2 separate regions of the Homo sapiens genome follow, and region 2 is linked to region 1. The links are contacts of gene promoters, found by promoter capture Hi-C in blood cells and fetal thymus (Javierre and others, 2016). All regions are on one chromosome and are shown on one strand. Each heading gives the region's core, a stretch centred on a gene start or on the middle of the fragment in contact. The rest is flanking DNA. Distances are from core to core; before and after follow the strand shown. Region 1 holds the start of LIN28B (lin-28 RNA binding posttranscriptional regulator B). Region 2 has its middle 23 kb from the start of PREP.

Region 1 (6,767 bases), core at 1,121-3,620:
ATACTGGAGGCCCCCAATCAGGCAAGACTGTGAATCTCATAACTATACTGTACAGTGTAGTTCAGTTATGGTATTCCACTTTTCACCCACATGTTCATAAATTTGAATTTCATCAAATTTAACAATAAACAGATTCTGAATCTACCTACATTATTATGCTTCTGGTTTTATAATGATTAAACTGTTTTCTAATTAAAAGCAAACTTAAATGAATATTTTACAAAGCTAAACTATACTGGCCTGTGAATTTTGTGATCATTACTTTTATGTAAGTAATAGCATTTCACCTCAATTTACATGAATACTTTCTGAGATTTTTTTCCTCTTATACCAGATGTTGATTTTTTAAAGTGATTATTAAAATATGAAAAAATATAAATTACTTTCTCGATTTCATATTATGTCACAAGCTTAGCCTGTAATGCCATCATTGAGATTACTTTCTTGTCAGTGTAATCAGTATAATAGAAGTAATTTCTACCATCAAAATAATGCCTAGTAAATGTTTTGTTAGTAAATAATTTTTTCAGAGCTTTGAGCTTTTGTTAAACTTTCAAAGTCATTGGATTTTTGCACCTTTTCTTTTCTCCCTAACAGCTGGCACAGGATTATTCCTCCCAAAATAAATAAAATGAGAAAGTAGCCCTTTTTCCTGAGAAATAACAAAAGGAATAACAGACAAAAAAAAAAATCTTTCCAAATTGATTAGTTTTCATTAAACCTTTTATCAAAAACAGCTGAAAATAACTTCTATTTTTTATACATCCATTTTCCAATCTGAGCCAATTAAATTTATATTTAGTTGTTTAATATGGGGAGGGAGTATAAATAGGTGTATACAGCTTTTTCCATAGCTCTTCGATTCATAATCCCTACATTTTAGCTTGTGTGAAACAGTGCTGGAGTGTGGATGTGTTTGAAGAGACTGGGAGGGGGATTGCTGGCATGGTGGGGGAGGGTCAACTCGGTAGCTTTGTCGAAGGAAGTGGTATCTGAACAGTTAGTTTCTTGGTAAACTGCTTGTTTAAGAAAATGGGGGGTGGGGTAGGCAAGTCTGGTGGTGCATTTTAAGGTTTTAAAATAGCGATATTTTATATTTTAAAGGAAATAAAGTCTTTTTAGTTAATCTATAATATTTATTATAGTATTCGATAAGGGCAGAAATACTGTTGCCAGCATCTTGTAATCAATCGTTTGAACCAGTTTGAAAGGTAAAGGGGGTAGGCATTTTGAAACTGGGGGTCAGTTGAGGAAGGACAGTAGGAGCTTCATCCGTTGTTACATTTTCGTTTATTCAACTCTTCTAGCCATTGGTAGTGGACTTTTAAAATGTCAGGGTACAAGTCAATATGATATGAATTTACCTTTTTTCTCCCACTTGTCCTTCTTTCTCCACCCCACCCCCTGCCCGCGCCGGCTTTTTTTCTCTCCCACCTCTTTCTTTGACTCTGCTGCCGCCTATCCTGGCGGCTCCTCTTCACCTCCCCTGCCTGGCGATCCCCTCCCCCTCCTGCCCTATGTCCTCCAGCTCTTGGGGAACAATCGCCACTGATTGAGGTTCACTCTATGTTAGGCTGGAAAACTGGGCTGTTATTTAGGAAGTCATTAATCACATCTCCTCCCCCGGAAAGAGATGGCAGAGAAACCTGTGAAGTACAATTCCTTACCAACCCCCTCTAAAATTTTCCAAAATGGTTTACCTAAACACAATTTGACTATATGAAGGTGAAAACGATTTTTCTAGTAGGATTTTATTTTAAATTTGAAAAAATTTCGGGCATAATCAGGTAATTTATGTGCCTCTGCCTTTTCCTAGGTGTATGTTTTCATTATCTAAAGTTTCATGGGGATGTAATTAGGTTTAATTAGATCTTTTATAAATTATATATTTTCCTCTAAGAATTGAATTAAATATGAAATTAGCGTTCCAAGCAGGTTTACTGCCATGGAATAGCTGAATTCTTAAGGGGAAAAAAAGCGTTAACATCGGTTGTTTTATTTAAACGACCCCCTCCCATGATTTTAGTCAGGCTTGTGTGTAAGGCACGCGTGTGCACATATATGACTGCCTTTTTTTCTAAATCTATGATTCACAAGGTCCCTCCATTGTGTTTAAGTAGAAGCACGAAATCAGCATTCTGATTTATCCTAAAGAAGCGTTCCAAATTGTCTTTAAGATAACATGTTTGAGTTTTTCGTGTTCATTCATAAATTATTTTGATGTCAGCATAGATGAAATGGCGATTGGTTATCTCTTCCTCTTGCCAGCCCCTTAAGGATACGAGGTGAAATTAGTAGCAAGAAAGCATGTAATTGACAAAGTCACGTGTGCTCAGGGGGCCAGAAACTGGAGAGAGGAGAGAAAAAAATCAAAAGAAGGAAAGCACATTAGACCATGCGAGCTAAATTTGTGATCGCACAAAATCAAGATGTTAGATTGATGCAGAAGATCACTCCGTTCCAAAGGGAAAGTTTTCATCTCACGAGTTTGGAGCTGAGGGCCCGTGGGGCAACATGGCCGAAGGTTAATTTTCTTTTCTATTGTTTTACTGTGAATTTCTTTCTTCTTTTCTCCTCCCCCTCCCCCTCTCCCACCCTTCTTAGACCGTCCCCCCCTTCCCCTTTTACCCCAATACTGGGCATTACCTCCCAACCCCCCATCACGCAGTGGGGCTTTCTGCAAACCTATTGTTATAGATCTCCAAAAATGTTTTGTACCGCCCACACTGATTCACAACTTGAAAAGCTTTCAGGGGGCTATTGTTTGAATTGTGTGAGTGTGATTAAGCGCAGTTTCAGTTAGTGATTCCAAGAAAACTTTTATACACCTGCCCCCTCCCCCATTCCACCCCAACTTTAATTGAAAGTTATGGGGGGGAGGGGAATGCACATTGCAAATAACGCTGGATTCAGTGCTGCCCCATGTGCCTTAACTAGTAGCTCTAAACCATCTTCACGATTTCTCTTTCCTCCTCGTGCCCGCCGGAGAGAATAGTTTCGCTGAAAATTTCTCTTTGTCAATGGGATCAGTATTAAATCAGCAATATACAAGTAAAGTATCGCATGCTGTAATGTAAAATGTGGCTGAAAAATGGAGTTAAATGAATAAGTACACGTATGTATAGAAACGTGGAAGTTGGTGTGATCGATAGAACAGTGTGGCTTCCCCCTCCCCCGCTTTCCTTTTAACCCTTTTCATTTTAAGTATTTTCTGTGGAGAAAAGAAATCAAACCATTAAAAAAAATTTTTTTTTTCTGTTACCCTTCCCCCCCAACCCCAGGCAGGCAATTTTTTTTTTTTAATCTTTGAATGCACATTGAATGGGAATACAGACTGACTTTTTTGTCCTGTTCCTTCTCAGGCGGGGCTAGCAAAGGTGGTGGAGAAGAGCCCGGGAAGCTGCCGGAGCCGGCAGAGGAGGAATCCCAGGTTTTGCGCGGAACTGGCCACTGTAAGTGGTTCAATGTGCGCATGGGATTTGGATTCATCTCCATGATAAACCGAGAGGGAAGCCCCTTGGATATTCCAGTCGATGTATTTGTACACCAAGTAAGCCAAACTTTTTTGTCCCCCTCTTCATCTTTTTCCATGTGGAGGAGCTGATCGGTAGTTATGCCAATAGACGTACGATAAGATGTCCTTCGGTATATTGAAAGACAAAATCTTCCCTGAAATCACTAGGTAGTCCAACGTTTAGGGTACGTGTATGGGCCTTTTCCTGGGTTTTCTGTCTAAAGAGAAAAGAAAATATTTGAAATTTCACTATATATATTAAGGTTGACGTTATTAGCATTTCCCCCTGCTTCATTCTACAGCGAAATAGTGTTCTTGTTGTTTCCGGTATTACCTATACAATATACTTTGTCGCCTGTATCTGGTGAATGGGTAGAAAAATGAAGAAACATGATCATTTTAAGGTTGAAAAAACAAAGCGAAACAGTTTGCTGTGGAAAGAAATGTATAGATTGCCTTATTTTAGACACCTCTAGTCACAGTAGCTCCCTTTATTATTTCATCGCTGCCTGTCCTGTAATCATTTTGTAGATTCAGATCAAAATAATTTGACTTCATAGTAAAATAAAATAGAACACTGTTGGCCTAATGTGGTTGTAAAGAAATGCGTGCAATAGAGGGATGCTTGATAAACATTTTAGAAATGTGCTCCGTGTAGTCATTGGTCTACGTATACTGTCTCTTTAAGAGACTGAACTCAAAAAAACATGTGGCCAGAGGCGGCTCTTGCTTGTGTGTTTAAAATGTGCTGGTCTGCTACTTGGGGTAAATTTCCACCTTTGCTCGTATTGTGTTGTAATTTTTAAAGATGTTTTAATACCAAACAGAATTTCATTGCTTCCCATTTTCAAAATTTTACCCAGGAAATAATGAATTAATACTTCTGCCTTTACTCCTCTCTACTGCTTAATCCCTTTATAGTAAAAAAGATACTTTTATGGAAGCCGGTTGTTTCCTCAAAAAAAGGTAAATATAAATTTTCTGTAGTTAGAAATAAAGAGGTTTACGACTAAAGAGGTTTATTTTGGCATGATAATCTAAGTTAAAAAGAATTGAATGAAAGGCTGTTAATACTACAGATTGACTGACAGATACATGGGTGAAATATTTGGTATATTTGCTTGAAAAGTATATATTTGATACTGTGTTGCATGTTCCTAGTAATATTTATACCCCCTTCCCTAAGGAATATCATCTTCAAATTAAATATATAAACAATAGAAACATATGAAACCATTCTGTTTTGATCTGTTGTCCTGTGGTGCTTGGTAGCTTCCTGACCTTGCTGTGTGGTGTGTGTTTTCCTTTCCTGAAGGCCTGGCCATCATTATTGGCTGTTTATATGTGGAAGGATCAGCATAATCTGTGAATTGAAACAGGGTTTAAGTACACAAATACAAGTCCACATACAGACTACTGGATTTTATGCTTCCTATTTTATAGTGCAAAATGAAGCTACATTTTCTGTTTTTTCCCCTCTAAGACTGGATGACAAAAATCATAGACAAATCCATTTTCTCTCAGGCTCTTTCTTCCACCTTTGAACCTTCTTTAGGTTGTTAAATTGTTTTTTATGATCTCATAAATTTGTTTTATAGATGAATGAAAAAAATAACCCTTCTTTGTCTGGTCACGCCTTTTTATAATTTGATTTTCTATGTTTACCTTCTAAAATATTCATCAAATGTTAAGATATTTTATTAACCAATGTTAATGTTTAGAACAACAAGACATTTGTGTTTATACTATTTAATGATTATATATTGATAAACATTCCTCTATTCACTGAATTAAAACATGTAGCTGCTGAAGTTTTTTAAATATATAGCTGTTTCTATACTATAAACATTGATTTTTAAATAGTTGACTTAATATTCAGTTACATACAGTAGTATATACATACAGTTCATGTATATATTAAAAGGACAGTATTAAATGATGCCTAGTTAAAGAGGTTTCTTATATTGTAATATACATAAATTGTATATAAATTGTATGAATAATTGTTTTGAAGAAGGCAGGAATCCTACTGATGTTAGCTAAGCAACTACAAGTAACAGATGGTTGTAAATGATACAGGTATTATGTGTGCATCACTTATGGAATAAGGTTGCAATTCAAGACGATTTCATAGAATTTTAAAAAACATTTTTATTATTATTTTAGAGGCCTTTTTAGTTTTATAAGCATTTTTGAAAACATACCAGGTTTTATGTCTATGTACTATTTTGTTGTGAAAGGATATGTATCATAGGTGATTAGGAATTTTAAATGTTCAACTGGACCTATGTCTACTCAAAATTTTTAAAATATATGACATAGTTTTTTTTGAAGTGTTTGGAAGTACATGTGTCACTGGATTTTTTTTTTGAAGTATTCTGAAACATTTTTAATAATGTATATTTGGAGAAATAAAAAACAAATTATTTGTGTCCTTAATAAATACATAAAAATTTATGCTGAGGAACCTAGGATACTTTTTCTCTTAAAAATATTGATTGCATGTAACAGCATATCAAAACATATTCAGTTGCTTCAAAATAAAGAGAATATATATATGTGTGTGTTTTAAAATTGAGCTGTGTATTTGTAGTTATGTATATTTATAGTTACATAACTCTACTTAAAATTTATTGGCAGTAATACCATCAAACTTTCTTGTAGTTCCTGTGATGTCACCAAATCCTCAAAAAGAAACACATGCCTAGGTGCTGTACTTTGTCTCTCTTTAGTCTCTCTTTAGACATGTTGATAAATGCTGTGAGATTCTGCTATTTGAGGATGGTATGTAACCATTGATGGTTTAAAATGACAGTCTTCATTTGATTTTCTAATGTTAATTTGTAATTTAAATAATCATATTTTTATGATGTGAAAATATATATTCTGACCCATGTTAATTGTGAAACATTGATATAGTTCAATAATGAATATTTTATTTTTAAAAAATTAACAAAATATGTAAGTATTATATTTGTGAATTTTGTCATATCTCACTGTTGAAGTTTTTAAAAAATGTTTAATAAAATAGGACAATTTTGATGATTTTATTTTTAAATATATTTAAGAATTTCTCGAGTAATACAAACACAGATTTGTTTCAAATGAAGTAAGGATATACGTGGTTAATACAAATTTGTTACGTCTAAATTCTTTTATTTTTTTTTTGAGGTGGAGTCTCACACTGTCACCCGGGCTGGAGTGCAGTGGTGAGATCTCGGCTCACTGCAACCTCCACCTCACGAGTTCAAGC
Region 2 (7,064 bases), core at 376-2,875, 470 kb after region 1:
TATGGGACCAAGATCCAAGAACCTGGTTAGGGTTTGAAACCTGCCAAATCTGAAAGTTCCAAAGGCAGACACCAAATTTAGGGTATGAGATCCAGAGTTTGGGGCCTGGAAAATCAAAGCTTTTGTGAATTGTGAACTGTAAAACAGAAAAGAGGGACTTGGAGAAGGTCCTGAGTAATTACTGCTCACAGAACTTAAAGCATTCACAATCTGCCATGACATGCTATTTAGGGACCAGCAAGAAAGCAAGGCACAGGTGGTTCTGCAGTAGTAAAAGCTTGAGGTGGATCACTAGTAAGCATGCTAACTGCCATGTAATGTAAGGAAATCTCCATTTTTATAGACAAAGTATTCCATAGCCTGCCAGTAGGAAAGCTCCTTTGACCCCTCACTGAGCGGTCACTCAGGTCTTCAGGATGTCTTTCTGCACACATTTCTTTCCAAGAGTTAGTGGAGTGAGGCTTCTGGGTTTATACTGGTGTCTTACAGTTGCAGTGTTTCTCAGCACTTGCCATCTACTGGCTTAAGGGACAGCAATTCTGAATGCCCCCTAGGACCTCTTTTTACAGCTTAGACTGGGCAATAAACTCAAAGAAAAAACTCACAGTAAAAATAGTTCACTTGTCCCCTTCTCTAACCCACATATGGAGACAAAACAAATTTCTCATAATATACCAACACTTTTAAAAGTGGAAGCCTAATGATTTGAATTCCAGTGGGTAAGGAAGGAAGCAATGTTTTTATGTCCTCTCCACCTTGGAACAGGGTGGGCTATTTCTCCATTTATGTGGGCTGGCAGCAGATGGGGAGGTAAGGGCTTCTCATGATCCACAGCACCACAGTGCCAGCCCCCTGTCAAGCCTATATCAAGAAGAGGTGTGCAGGAGAAAGCTGAGTGTTAGGATTTCACCTGGGCAGAAGAATCGGGGGTGCCAGTTGCAGATTCCCGAAAGAGTGACTGTGACTTGTTGTGGTCCTTTTCCTGTTCCTGGAGTCAGAAAAAAGGGACCAGCTGCTTACTGATCCATCTTCTTTGAAATGAAGTGGAGATTAATTCCTAATTGTTCCACTTCTCATACCTACACATCACAAGTGTAGGTTCACTCCTGATCATTTCTGTGTGTTTTGTATTGTACTGTATTGTATTGTACTGTATTGTAGACAGGGTCTTTCTCTGTTGCCCACGCTGGAGTGCAGTGCTGACCATTTCTTTATCTTTTCAAGGCAGCCCTGATCCCACAGATAGTCCTTCATCCCTTCTTCACTAACAGCCCCTCAGTACTGGATTCATACTCTCTTTAAGTCCCAGCCGTTTGAGGTTTCAAAGTTTGCTACACTGCCCTCTGCTGGTCTGAACTCGGATTTACCCTAAAATGGGGGGCTCCCATTGCCAAGTACTTGAAGTTCACCCTAGATAAACGGCTTCATCAATCTCTATAGCACTTGATTTCCTTTCCTTATCTGGTGAAGTTTCCTATTCATATAGAACTTAGAGATGCTTAGGCTCTTGGACAGTTTCTGCAAATGTAGCATGAGGCTCTTGGAAAGGGAGACTTCTCTGCTTAAGGTTACTCCCTGGCTCCTGGCTTAATCTTTTCAGTGACATTTAATTCTACGGCCAATATCTGATGTTTACTCTTGTTTCTAAGCCATGGATCCTTTCTTGGTCCTCGAGTACGTTAGCCAATATGTCACCCAGATCCTTAAAAAGAGTTAGGAAACCATTCCCTGAGGTACCCTAGAAGTCTGCAGTGATACCAGTTGCTTCCAGTCTATTCTGATGAATACTGTTCCTATGAAATCACTGGTGCATACCACCTACAACTGCCAAGATCACTCATCCTGTGTGTTTAACCCAGGACTGTCTGCTTCCAGTCTGCTTTAGAAATCACGTACAAATATTTTTAAAAATATTATCTACTAATAAGGCAATCTCTCATCACAGTACAGTACAAACACAAGGTGTGTTATTAAGGATTTATCTGGCACCACAAAATTTGCCATAAAACTTCAAAGTCTTAAGAATAGGATTATCTAAAAAGCTCAACATCACTGATCATTAGAGAAATGCAAATCCAAACCACAATGAGATATGATTTCATGCCAGTCAGAATGGTGATCATTAAAAAGTCAAGAAACAACAGATGCTGGTGAGGCTGCAGAGAGATAGGAACACTTTTTTCTGTTGGTGGGAGTGTAAATTAGTTCAACCATTGTGGAAGATGGTGTGGCAATTCCTGAAAGATCTAGAACCAGAAATACCATTTGACCCAGCAATCCCATTACTGGATATATACCCAAAGGAATATAAGTCATTCTATTATAAAAATACATGCATGTGTATGTTCATTGCAGCACTATTCACAATAACAAAGACATGGAATCAACCCAAATGCCCATCAATGATAGACTGGATAAAGAAAATGTGGTACATATACACCATGGAATACTGTGCAGCCATAAAAAGGAACAAGATCGTGTCCTTTGCAGGAACATTGATGGAGCTGGAAGACATTATCCTTAGCAAACTAACACAGGAACAGAAAGACCAAACACTGCATGTTCTCACTTATAAATAGGAGCTGAACAATGTGAACACATAGACACAGGGAGGGAAACAACACACACTGGGGCCTGCCTGGCAGGGTGGAGGGCATGGATGGAGGGAGAGCATCAGGAAGAATAGTTAATGCATGCTGGGCTTAATACCTAGGTGATGGGTTGATAGGTCTAGCAAATCATAAGGGCGCATGTTTACCTATGTAACAAACCTGCACATCCTGCGTGTGTACCCCAGAACCTAAAATAAAATAAAATAAAAAACGTAAAAAAAAGAATTTTCTTTGCCCTCTATTCCTTTTTTACCTTTCTTGACTTACCTCTTCAGAATCTATTCTCTTAGAACATTTGGTTTTGTGTGTTTGTGGCTGTATACCTACATACCTTTCCATCATTGCCATTAGCTTCTTTCCAACAAGCTTTCACAAGTCTAAGAATTCTTGATTAGATTTTTTTTTTATTTTGCTGGCCTACAGGATTTGACATCCCACTAAAATCTTCTATCCTTCAGATGAACACTTTAGCCCCCAATTCTAAACTTGACTGGATGTTACTCTGTTTGCCTAAAATATTTCTGATTTATTCATATCAGTTTTAAGGCACGTCCATTTCTTATATGTATTTAATTGTTTTATTTAAATTGATCTTTCTGGGTTTTTCTAATTATCACTTATAAGAAAAATCATGCTTCTTATGCATATGGAAGTACATGTTGGAAAATGGATAAAAGAGCCATTTTAAGGATAAAATGCAAATAGTGCATCAGGCCTCAAAATTTCACTTTGAGTTTTCCCTTTAATAACAAAATATGGCCAGGCATGGCCTATAATCCTAGCCTTTGGGGAGGCTGAGATGGGAGGATCACTTGGGCCCAGGAGTTCAAGACCAGCCTGGGCAACATAGGGAGACCCTGTCTCTATAAAAATTTTTAAAAAATTAGCCTAGCATGGTGGTATGTGCCTGTGGTCCCAGCTACTCAGGAGGCTGAGGTGGGAGAATCACTTGAGCCTGGGAGGTTGAGGCGCAGGTGACAGAGCAAGACCCTGTCTCAAGAACCAACTGACCAAACAAACAAAAATATAAGTCTTTCTCAAAAAAGGTAGTCACTTAACAGATATATATGGGTAACACCTATACACAGGACACTGAATTAAACATGGAATTATAAAAAGATGAACATATGTTGACTTGTGCTCAAACATGATCTCAGATTACTATATTAGGATTTCGATGGCCACTTCAGGAGCAAGTCTTTCATTTAATAAATATTTATTGAGTGCTTACCACATTCCAGGTACCATGCTAGAAGCTAGAGATTTATGGAGCCTGGATTTGGGAGGTAACTCTAATCTAGTGCAGTTGGATCTATAGGACAGGATGCTGTGGGAGCACAGATGTCATCTAACTTCGTCTTGGAGGGATAGAGAAGGGTGACCCAAGGTAGTAATGTCTAAATTGAATTTGAGAAATGAGTAAGAAGTAACGAGGTACAGATCAGAAGTAGCGGGGGTGAGCAGCTAGGTGCAGAGTTTAAGGGAGCACCCTATGGAAATGCTGAGGGCTGTGTACAAGGGATGTATGTGAAGGAGTGTGAGAGTTTGGTATGGATGGAGCCTGCATTAGTCTGTTCTCACGGTGCTAATAAAGACATACCCAAAAACTGGGTAATTTATATAGGGAAGAGGTTTAATTGACTCACAGTTCAGTATGGCTGGGGAGGCCTCAGGAAACTTACAATCATGACAGAAGGGGAAGCAAACACATTCTTCTTCTCATGGTGGCAGGAAGAAGTGCAGAGCAAAAGGGGAAAAAACCCATATAAAACCATCAGATCTTGTGAGAACTCACACACTATCACAAGAACAGCAGCATGGGGGTATGCGCCCCCATGATTTAATTATCTCCCTCTGGGTCCCTCCCACCACACATAGGGATTATGGGAACTACAATTCAAGATGAGATTTGGGAGGGGACACAGCCAAACCATATCAGAGCCTACAGAGCAATGTAGGAGTCAGGAGAGATGAAGCTGGAGAGGAAAATTGGTCAAATCATGCAAGTCTCCTATATTCATTGATGATAGGGAACTAGGAGAGATATGCACTGGCTTTATAGTAAATGGCTCCTATAGTGTGTGAGTCAGATAATGTCACAGGCATGATACAAATTATAAGCAGGGTAGGCCTTGCTGCTGCAACAAAGATCTACAAATTCAATGACTTAGAGAACAGAAAGTTTATTTCTTTCTCACTTCATAGGACTGAGTGGTTTCAAGTCAGCAGCTAGAAATGGGAAGAGGAGAAGGTGGGCTCTGCTTTTTGCAGAGACCCCGGCTGACTGCAGCTGTGCTATCTTTAACCCATTGTTTCTAGCATCACCACCCCAGGAAACTAGAAAGAGAAACGGGATTGTAAGTAAGTGGCTTTTATGGGCCAGGTCTGAAAGTAGCACGTACTGCTTCTGTCACATTCCATTAGTCAGAAACCGGTCACATGGTTACACCATATTGCAAAGTACCCTGGAAAATGGAGCCCAGTTTTGTGCTCAGGAAGAAGAGAAAATGGATTTTGGGGAATAGTGTCTGCCACAGTGCTGGAGGGAAGAGCTGGTGGGCTATGAATCAGAACCATTGCTCACTCCTTCTAAGAGCCCTTTCTCTAGTTGCCTCTGCTTATCTCGTAGTCCTGGTCTTCTTTCAATTCCATTTCCCTTATGCAAATACATACAGGGCCTCTTGGATTATTTATCTCAACCCTAGCTACTTGTCATTCCTCAACTAAGATTCATGTTTGATCAATCTCCTCTGACTCTCAGCACAACAGGCTGTTTGCTTGCCCAGCTCAGCCTGTTTTAAGGAGAGAGTCCGACCTTGCTGGTCAGTTGGGGAAGCCAGAAATGCTGGTTGGTAGGTGGCACTCAGCAAGACACTCATTCCAAAGCAACACACACGTAATGAATGCAAGGATTCAGTCACGCTCAGGAGAACACAACAACACTGGCTCCCTTGACCTATTTCCTCAAGACTAAACTTTCAAAAGAGTAACCACACCCAGGCTGACCAGGGAATTGTTAAAAACAGGGATGTCAGCATGCTCTGATCTGACTGCCAACAAAAATATTTCCTTTGTGTTGATGCTTTCTTCATACTGCACTCAGGAAGGGCAAAGAAGTTTGACCTGTCTGGGTTGGAGAGCCCGGTGAACCACTCTCCCCAGGGTTTCTCTCTGGGAGTTACAGAAAGAGGCCTGCATGTTGTTTCTTTCTAATGGGAGTTGAGGCTACCACTTTCATAACCACCGATTAGTCCTATTTGCTATTAGGAAATCTCAGGGCTCTCCATCAAAGGCCTCATTGTTTGGATGTTTTTTTTCTTTCACTTGTGTCACTCTGCTAAGGTACGCTTTCACTCAGCAGTGTCTTCTGGGTCATTTTTATAATGCTGTTAAAGAGAGGATGAAAGTGCTAGAATCAAGAGTTGGAGATACCACTCCTCACCAAGAGTTTAAAACCGACATTGAGCGGAGGTGAGGAGGGATGGGGAATTTGTTGATGAATTTGTATTTATTTGTGTATGTCCCTTGGGTTTGTTTCCTTTTTGTCCAAATCCAGACATTTAAAACTCATATGTCTACGCTCATGATTTATAGAGATCTTCACTGTCATGATAAGCAAAATAGGAAGAAAAGGAAAATAAACAAATAAAAAATAAATAAAAAGGAATTCTGAGTGTTAGGGCTTTTTATTTCTGTCTTCATGTAATATATAAGCCTCATAGAAATACAGGTAAGGACTTGATTTCCTCTAAAGCCATTTCAAGCATTATAGTATATGAGAAATTTGCATTTTAATATTGTCTAAAAACATCGTGTTGTTATTATTGACCACCTGATTCTTAGCCATATTTCAAATTAAGCTAGCCATATGAAATAGTAGTTCTTCCATTAGTAATGCCATCTCTTATTCTTAGTCTTTTTTTTTTAAGGATTTCACTAAAACATTTATTCTAAGAAGCCCTCTTTCATTCACCTCGATTTGACTGGGATTATTTCTTTAAATTTTACATTTGTATCCCAGATGTGGCAAGGCCCTAGGACCAATCAGGATAGTCCAGGTAATGTTGAGGTAATGATCCCAGAATCTCAGTGGCTTAAATCAGCAAAAGTGTGTTTCTCCTTCGTGCTCCAGGTCCAGTGTGGCTCAGCACATGTGGAGTCACTCAGGGACCAGATCCAGATCCACAGAGGCTCCATCCTAATGTGTTCCGTAAGCATCCTGTTAGAGTGAAGAGAACGTGGTGAAATACATACTGACTTGGAAAGCTTCTATCTGGAAGTGGTGTGTCACCTCTGCTCATGTTTTTTTGGCCAAAGGAAGACACATGTTCACAATTAACTGCATATCAATAAGTAGCAAAGGATAGGTTAAATTAACAAACACTCCCGTCCATATGAGTAAGTATCACAGTTTTAAAGCATTCTCTCAGACATTTCAGCAAAGGATAGGTT

Evidence for each region. The method cuts DNA at HindIII sites, captures the fragments that hold promoters and counts their contacts. A CHiCAGO score of 5 or more calls a contact.
Region 2: a contact is called between a fragment that was not itself captured here and the fragment with the promoter of LIN28B in region 1, in 1 of 17 cell types (fetal thymus). The highest score is 5.2, in fetal thymus.

What each region holds. Positions count from the first base shown.
Region 1 is chr6:104,954,737-104,961,503 of GRCh38, forward strand. LIN28B (lin-28 RNA binding posttranscriptional regulator B) reads left to right here and starts at 2,371. Exons shown (of 4, transcript NM_001004317.4): 1 at 2,371-2,524; 2 at 3,363-3,550. The coding sequence starts at 2,515. RefSeq lists enhancers at 1,384-2,321, 2,322-3,259. The HindIII fragment of the contact is 2,336 bases long and covers 409-2,744 here.
Region 2 is chr6:105,423,023-105,430,086 of GRCh38, forward strand. No RefSeq gene overlaps it. Among named protein-coding and RNA genes, the nearest start is that of PREP, 23 kb to the left of the region's middle. RefSeq lists an enhancer at 1,399-1,448. The HindIII fragment of the contact is 2,701 bases long and covers 276-2,976 here.